Regions from separate parts of the Homo sapiens genome. Here region 2 is linked to region 1. The links are contacts of gene promoters, found by promoter capture Hi-C in human tissues and cell types (Jung and others, 2019). All regions are on one chromosome and are shown on one strand. Each heading gives the region's core, a stretch centred on a gene start or on the middle of the fragment in contact. The rest is flanking DNA. Distances are from core to core; before and after follow the strand shown. Region 1 holds the start of RBBP6 (RB binding protein 6, ubiquitin ligase). Region 2 overlaps ZKSCAN2 (zinc finger with KRAB and SCAN domains 2).

Region 1 (3,987 bases), core at 1,358-3,857:
GAACAGCCTCCATGAAATAGATCTCATTCCGACTTCCTGAGCTTGAGTAGTTCACTACAGACAGCAGGCAGGCAGAGCTCCTTGGATCTCCCAATTCCGCTTGCTGGAACTGAATTTTGACATAAGAAAATAAGTTAAGGGGTTTACTAACTGTCTATGGTCAATGGTATGAGGCTATACTGGGTTTGAGAATGACAAAGGTTTGAAATCCTGGGACATGGGAGCTCCAGAATTGTTACATTATGAGAAGCTTAGACAGGAATGCTTCATTCACTGTAGGATAGTACAAAAGGCTTTTTCAGGGCTTACAAAAATATTGGTAGGGAGAGAAGCGTCAGGGAGACCAGCTCCATATTACCCAAAGAAAACGGCAAAATTTACAATTCAGCTCACTGAAGAAAAAAGAAAATAAAAAGTTTTTTTTTTAAAAAAAGAAAACTGCAAAATGAAGATTAGTAAAGGAATTCAGTGAAATGGACCAAATGTAGCATTGTGTCAATTAGTCAGGCAACTCAAGTCATAGGCTTATTGCAGGTGGTGAATGCATTTTGACCTGTTTGATGTGATATGAAGTGAGGCCTCTGTAAGTGAGAATATCAAGGTTGAACAAAGTTTTTGGCAGATGAGAACGGTTGGACCAATAGACAACATTCTTTCCAAGGACATCCCCCCCTGCAGATTAGGTTATGATCCACTCTGTCATATCCTGAGGGTGTGGCCCACTTTGAGATCCCATGATGCACCACGCTGATTAAATTAGGCATTCAGTATATAAAGGGGTCGGCCACAGACGGGCAAAAGGAACAGATTCACCGCTTCGGAGTGAATTCCATGACGGCTTGCAATTTTCTCGTCGAGTTTTTCTTTCACTAGAGATAGCCCTCGCCCTTTCATTCACACAGAGGCTTTTAAGAAAAAAGCAACCAACCTGAAGAGGACCTGGCAGCAATAAGTTTTTGGTGAAATAACAAAGAGGTAAAAGTGGAAGAAACTTGTTATATATGAAAAGTACTGATGTGTGTGGTTGAGTTAAATTGTAATGGTATCTCTAGAGCTGCCCTTGACTACGGCCAAAATTTTATTGCCACGACATCTCTATGGATCACGTAAAAATGTATCCAGTTATTCAGCACGTATTTATTGAGCACCTACTATGTTCTAAGAGCTGAGGATACAGCAAAAACAAATATAAAGATAAGATTCCTATTGTCAGCCGAAGGTAGGGGTTGGGGGAGATAGATAATTAAAAAGTAAATGTGTAACTGTCAACTATCTGCAAGTGCTAGGAAGAAAAGACTAAAGGGATAGAGAAAGATCGCCATCTTATTTTAAAAAGATGGCCTTAGGAAGGCTTTTCTGGCAGGATGGTGATTAATTTTAAATCAAGTTCAGTAAGAATTTGGAGTGTGCTTGCAGGAAGTCCCTGGGAAACTCTGCTACTTCTCGGCTATAGGATCTTATTCTCAGTTGCCTAAATTCACTGAGCCTAGCCTGTAAAATTCAGAGAGGATGAGGAACATGGATTGTAAACGATAATAACTATCGTTTATGAATGTAATTTTATTATATTATGATTTTTTCTGAATGTAATAACGTCCCCATGCCCAAAGGAAAAAAAAAATTCCAATCTACTGAGGGGGTTCTTGTCACTGTTCCTGGCATTTGCGCTTAGGAATGGAATCGGGACCCTGCCACTGAGCAGGCATCCCCTTCTGCAAATTCAGAAAGTACATGATTGCTAGCTTCAGTTCCATCATCTATAAATCGGAAATAATGTCATGTTGACCACGTAGGGTTTTTGTTGTTAAATTGACATTTATTGAGCTACAGCTATTAATATTTCGGTGCATTGAGCCACGTCAATGCACCGGCATGGTCTTAGACTATGGATTTATGTGCATTTATTTAATCCAAGTAAACCAAGTACTATTTTTAATGGCATTTTACAGCCAAGGAGACCCAGGCACAGAGGGGTTAAATCTAGAGCCCCCACAGCCAGGGATCCAACCCAGACAACGTGGCTGCTGAGCCTGGCAATGTTGTTATGCGATCAGCCCTGTGCCTAGCACATAGTAAGAGCTCAATAAATCTGTATGGTGCTGGTGGCTGTTATCAGTTCTTGGCAGCGGCTGCTCCACGATTTCCACTTGTCAAGAGTATAGGGTAGCCAGTTTATTGGAAGCAGCAGCTAGGGAGCGCTTGCATAGCAACCATAGTTTTCTGCGTAGCAACCATAATGCTCACTTAAATTGGGAGGCTTAGAGGAGCTGACGGGGCCTGTGGGGAAGGGGGAGTTAGCCGGCCACCCCTAGGCAAGCCACTTTGCAGTGGAAACTGCACGCAGCCCCTGCAAGGCGAGCTCTCCCCACCGAGCCTCCCTGTGAGCCGGTCCTCCTGACGCGCAACCCCCCTCCCTTTTGAAGCAGATGGTTCTTCCCGTTGTCCCTGCTCTTTCAGTTTCCGCGCTTTGGAGTCACAAAGCGCGGGGTCACGTGGGCGGGCCGTGCGCTTTGTGACGTCAGCCGCCCCGCCTCTCGGCCCGCCTATCCGCGCACGCCAGCCCCGCCTCGCGCGCGCCGCCCGTGCAATCCCTGCTTAAGAGACCCCGCAGTGGGGCGCTCGTCCGAAGCCAGGCCGCGTCCGCCATAGTACCTGGCTTGGAGGTGTCGCCGCCGCTCGGTGAGAGCCCCCGAGCGGCAGGGGGCCAACACAAAAAGGGAGCCGGAGAAGCCCTAGCCGCTGCCCAGCAGCTTGCGGGCGTGTTCTCGCGGTTCCGGGCCTCAAGGCGACGGAAACGAAAGGCGAGCGAAGCGCGGAGGATCCGGCGAGAAGAAGCGTCAGGGAGCCTCGGCGGTGTCCCCGGGGTCCGCCGAAGCCACCCGGCCGCCGGCTGGGGCCCGGGGTGGTGAGGAAGTGCTCCGAGGCCTCGCCGAGGCCTAGCGCCGGCTTTGTGTCCGAGGCGGCGGCGGCGGCGGGGGGAGGCGGAGCCGGGGGCGGCCTGCGGGAAGGCCTCTCCTCCGCCGACCGCGCGTTTTCGGCCTAGGCCGTGGGGCCGCTCGTGGCCTCCGGGGAGCAGGCGCCAGGGGTTTGTGTGCGGTGGGGGCCTGGGCCTGGGCCTGGGGAAGCTGACGCCGGTCGTCCGGAAGCCAGGAGGAGGCGTGAGGCCGCTCGTGGACTCCGGGCCTAGGCCCTCTCCCCTCAACCTTCTCCCGGGGCCTGGGTCACCCCAATCCACGGAGAGAGAGACCCGCCGGGAGGTGCGGCCGCGCTATGGACCCCTGACCCCGTGGGGTCGCTCGGACTCTTAACGTGTGGACTGACCGCTACTGACTGCACCGCCAATCCCCCCGTCTCTGCCGGCCCCTTAGCATGAGCGAGGGGGACCCAGCCGGGTGACATTGTGCCCGTTGGCGGATTCTCGATTTCCCCTCTTCCCCGTCCTCGTCCTCCTCCTCCCCCATGAAGTGATTCTGAGTATCGGGGGGTCTCTGGATTATTGTTCTGACGAACCCCTGCTTGTGGTTGGGGGGTATTTAATCTGAGGCCTTAGGGTCCTTCGGTGTCTTTGAGTGTTTTGTGTGTACATATTTTGCTCTTAAAGTTTATAAATATACGTATATTGAGAGTGTCCACGTCTCCTCGCTGAACCTTAGGAATCCCTTGGCACCATGTCCTGTGTGCATTATAAATTTTCCTCTAAACTCAACTATGATACCGTCACCTTTGATGGGCTCCACATCTCCCTCTGCGACTTAAAGAAGCAGATTATGGGGAGAGAGAAGCTGAAAGCTGCCGACTGCGACCTGCAGATCACCAATGCGCAGACGAAAGAAGGTAAGGGCCGCTTGGTCTTAAGATATTTGGTGGCTGGAGAGAGATACTAGCTAGAAGGTGCCTGGCAGGAAGCTAACCGCCATTATGTCTCTAGTGGGGACTGTTCGTTCTAGTACTTTGGATACAACTTTCATTGATAGCCAAGGTTTGCAG
Region 2 (3,987 bases), core at 540-3,039, 710 kb after region 1:
GCAGTGGCACAATCATGGCTCACTGAAGCCTTGAACTCCAGGGCTCAAGCGACCCTCTCGCTTCAGCCTCCTGAGTAGCTGGGACTACAGGAGTGTGCCACCATGCCTGGCTAATTGTTTTATTTTTTGTAAAGACGGAGTCTCGCTGTGTTGCCCAGCTGCTCTCAAACTCCTGGCCTCAAGGGATCCTCCCATCTCAGTCTCCTAAAGTGCTAGAATTACAGGTATGAACCACCACATCCAGCCAGATATTTCTTTTGAATGGGTTTAGTCATGGATACATTCCCTAGCCTGATTTAGTTTTCCATTCTATGTAAGAATTTATAGGCTGGGTGCGGTGGCTCATGCCTGTAATCCCAGCACTTTGGGAGGCCGAGGTGGGTGGATCATTTGAGGTTGGGAGTTTGAGACCAGCCTGACCAACATGGTGAAACCCTGTCTCTACTAAAAATATAAAAATTAGCCAGGCGTGGTGGTGGGTGCCTGTAATCCCAGCTACTTAGGAGGCTGAGGCAGGAGAATTGCTTGAACTCACCCAGGAGGAGGAGGTTGCAGTGAGCCGAGATTGCGCCACTGCACTCCAGCCTGGGTGACAGAGTGAGACACCGTCTCGGAAAAAAAAAAAAAAAAGAATTTATCTCTAGCTGGAGTAAAGAAACATTACTAATAACAGTGATACCAGGCAATGCTGTATTATATTTTAGCATTTTCACAGTGCCTTCATTTATATTATCCTATTTAACACTAATAACAACCCTATGAGGTATTCTTAGCCATATTTTACGGATGAGAAAATTGAAGCTCAAAGTAGTTACGTGATGTGTCTACTGTCACACAGTTATTAATTGGCGATTTAATTCTGCATGTCTCAGTCACAAAATATTTAACACCAGCTCTCTTTTGCATGGTGTATCTGTCTGCCTTTTTAATTTTAATGTCTCTGTATTATATTTAAGGTGGATCTCTTATAAGCAATTAATGTCTGATAATCTTAGTTCTTTAAGTTTGTAATTAATTATATATTTGGATTTATATCTTATTTTTTTCCATCTGACTCATCTATTTTGTATTCTTTTTTCTCTCCTTTGTCTTCTTTTAGATTACACAAAAAATGTTTATTTTATTTTTAATGAAAACCTGTTGAAACTGTTACAAAATTTTGTACTGGTTATTTTAGATAACGTAATAATGCATGCTTGACTTATAATGCAATACAATTGATTGCTTTATGCCAATTATCAGATAATACAAGATCCTTAGAACCCTGTAACTCCATTTGTCTTCCTTCCACAAGGACCCAAACACTCAAAATCCATGCTGTGCTCTAAAGTGAAAACGACTTCTCCACGGCCACTTGGAGCTGTTACTCTGACTGCAATGGGGGCAGCAGCAAGCACCTGAGAGTACTTCAGTGATGTGGCCACACCACAGTGAAAGTGGTGAGGTGTGTGTGACAGCACCCCCCGGGTTTGGCCACTTCTGGTCTACTCCTTTTTCCACAAGATCACACATCTGTTTTCCTACCAGAGAAACAAAGCACAATTCTTACCACTGAGATTCTGAAACAAGACAGGGGCACCATGGATTTCAGACTTGCGGATAAATTCGATGCCTATTTCATCATCATCAGAATCTTCTGCAGCTTCCTCCTCCTCCACCAAGCTGATGTGTTCCTTAGCACTGATGGCAATTCTCTTCAGTCTGGGGACAGGTATCATCTCCTTTGGTTTATCAGTGGACGGAGCACGGGCTGCAGGGTTCAACAAAGCATCCATGTCCTCAAAGAAGGCGCAGGGTTCTAGCATGTGGCCATTTCTCACCTTTCGATAGCTTTTCTGGAGACTTTTGAACTTGGTTCGACACTGTTCTGGGGTTCTAAGGAAGCCACATTCTCGCAACCATTCAGCCACAGCACCATACACTTGGCTATTTCGGGGACAGGCCTGAAGTGTTTCATAAAAGCGAGACTCTTTGAGAATTGCCAGGAAAGTCTTTGTTTCCTCATAGCTCCAATGCACACCTGCTATCTTTTCATCTTCTAAACCCCACTGCTGCTGCTCTCTCCATGTTTTTCCTGCACTCCTTGCAGGGACCTGAATAGCATGAACTGACTTTTCCTTGACGTAGTTGCTTCGTAGGATACTTCTCTTGTTAGAGGAATGCAGACCTAGAGTCCATGGCTCCTTTCTCTGTTCCAACCGGGTTATCTTGTTAGATGTAGACACTGCACTTCCTACAGTAAAATAAACATATTTCATGGTAGACATAGAAGTCATTACTGCATGCCTCAATCTTCTGCTGTCACATGCTCTCCTGGGCCACTTGTTCACACCCAAACCTTCCTCAGCTGTGACACTGCACATTTATTTTTACATGACTTCCTTGGTACAAACATCTACTAACTTACACGATCATTTTACTTCTCATATATGTACCATTTCTTTTCCTAGCTAGTTCTTACAGGAAAACCTTTAAGGGTAAGAATATATATTTTTAACCTTTGATTCTCTCTCAGTAGCCAGTGTTGTGTTAGGTTCAGGGTATGCTCCTACTCAGTATTTGTTACTTGTAAAATAAAGTGTATCTTTTCCCCACATTCCCCTCCATGCCCACCCCAACATACATAACATACATACATATATAGGCACTGGGACTATAAGAGAAAAGAAGCCAAGAATTTTTTGTTAAACTATATTACAAAGCCACAGTAATCAAAACAGTATGGTACTGGTATGAAAACAGACACAAAGACCAGTAGAACAGAATAGAGAGCATAGAAGGAAGTCCACACATGTATAGCTAAATAATCTTTGACAGAGTGCCAAGAACACATCACTGGGAAAAGATCATCTTTTCAACAAATGGTGCTCGGAAAACTGGATATCCAGATACAAAAGAGTGAAACTGGACCCCTGTCTTACACGACTCACAAAAATGAACTCAAAATGGATTAAGCCTTAAATATAAGACCTGAAACCATAAATCTCCTAGAAGAAAACACAGGGGACAAAGCTCCTTGACACTGGTCTGGGCAATAATTTTTTTGGATATGACATCAAAGCACAGGCAATGAAAGTAAAAATAAATGAGTGGGACTACATCAAACTACAAAGCTTCTATACAGCAAAAAAAAAAAAAAAAAAAAAAAAATCTAATCCAAAACAACAACAAAAACAGTCAACAAAGTGATGAAAAAATCTATGGAATAGAAAAAAAGATTTGCAAACCACTCATCTGCTAAGGGGTCAATAACTAAAATATACAAGGAACTCCTACAATTCAATAGCAAAATAACAACAAACCAAACAAATAATCTCATTAAAAAATAAGCCAAGGATATGAATGGACATCTTCCCAAAGAAGACATACAAATGGCAGATAGGTACATGAAAAGGTGCTCAACATTGCTAATCATCAGGGAAATGCAAATCAAAGCCACAATGAGGTATCATTTCATACCTTTCAGAATGGCTATCATCAATGAGACAAAAATAAGAAGTGTTGGTGAGAAGAAAATGAAACCTCTGAATACTGTTGGCAGAGCTGTGAATTGGGAAGAGTCATTATGGAAAACAGTACAGAGGTTCCATAGAGAACTAAAAATAGAATTACCATATGATCCAGCAATCCTGCTACTGGGTATATATGCAAAAATATTAAAATCAGTAGGCCAAAGAGGCACTACCATGTTCACTGCAGCATTATTCACATACAGCTAAGATACGGAAGCAACCAGGAGGCTGAATGGATAAAGAAAATGTGGTCTATATACACAAAGGAATATTATTCTGCCTTAAAAAAGAAGAAAATTCTGCCTTTTGCAACAACATGGACGAACATGGAGAACATTATGTTAACTAAGGTAAGCCAGGCACAGAAAAGACATATATCACATGACCTCACTTTTTTGGCAGTATCTAAAAATGTCCAACTCATAGAAGTAGAGAGTAGAAGATGGTTACCAGAAGCTGGGGGAGGAGGAGGGAA

The links. The method cuts DNA at HindIII sites, captures the fragments that hold promoters and counts their contacts. A contact is called where the count stands out against the background at its distance.
Region 2: a contact is called between a fragment that was not itself captured here and the fragment with the promoter of RBBP6 in region 1, in 1 of the 25 tissues and cell types used here (IMR-90 fibroblasts).

Annotation. Positions count from the first base shown.
Region 1 is chr16:24,536,959-24,540,945 of GRCh38, forward strand. It overlaps RBBP6 (RB binding protein 6, ubiquitin ligase), which reads left to right and starts at 2,608. Exons shown (of 18, transcript NM_006910.5): 1 at 2,608-3,834. The coding sequence starts at 3,669. RefSeq lists enhancers at 550-844, 2,271-3,265, 3,266-3,987 and silencers at 2,555-2,604, 2,875-3,054. The HindIII fragment of the contact is 6,685 bases long and covers 1-3,987 here.
Region 2 is chr16:25,245,158-25,249,144 of GRCh38, forward strand. It overlaps ZKSCAN2 (zinc finger with KRAB and SCAN domains 2), which reads right to left. Exons shown (of 7, transcript NM_001012981.5): 5 at 1,550-2,233. Among named protein-coding and RNA genes, the nearest start is that of ZKSCAN2-DT, 10 kb to the right of the region's middle. The HindIII fragment of the contact is 4,882 bases long and covers 1-3,987 here.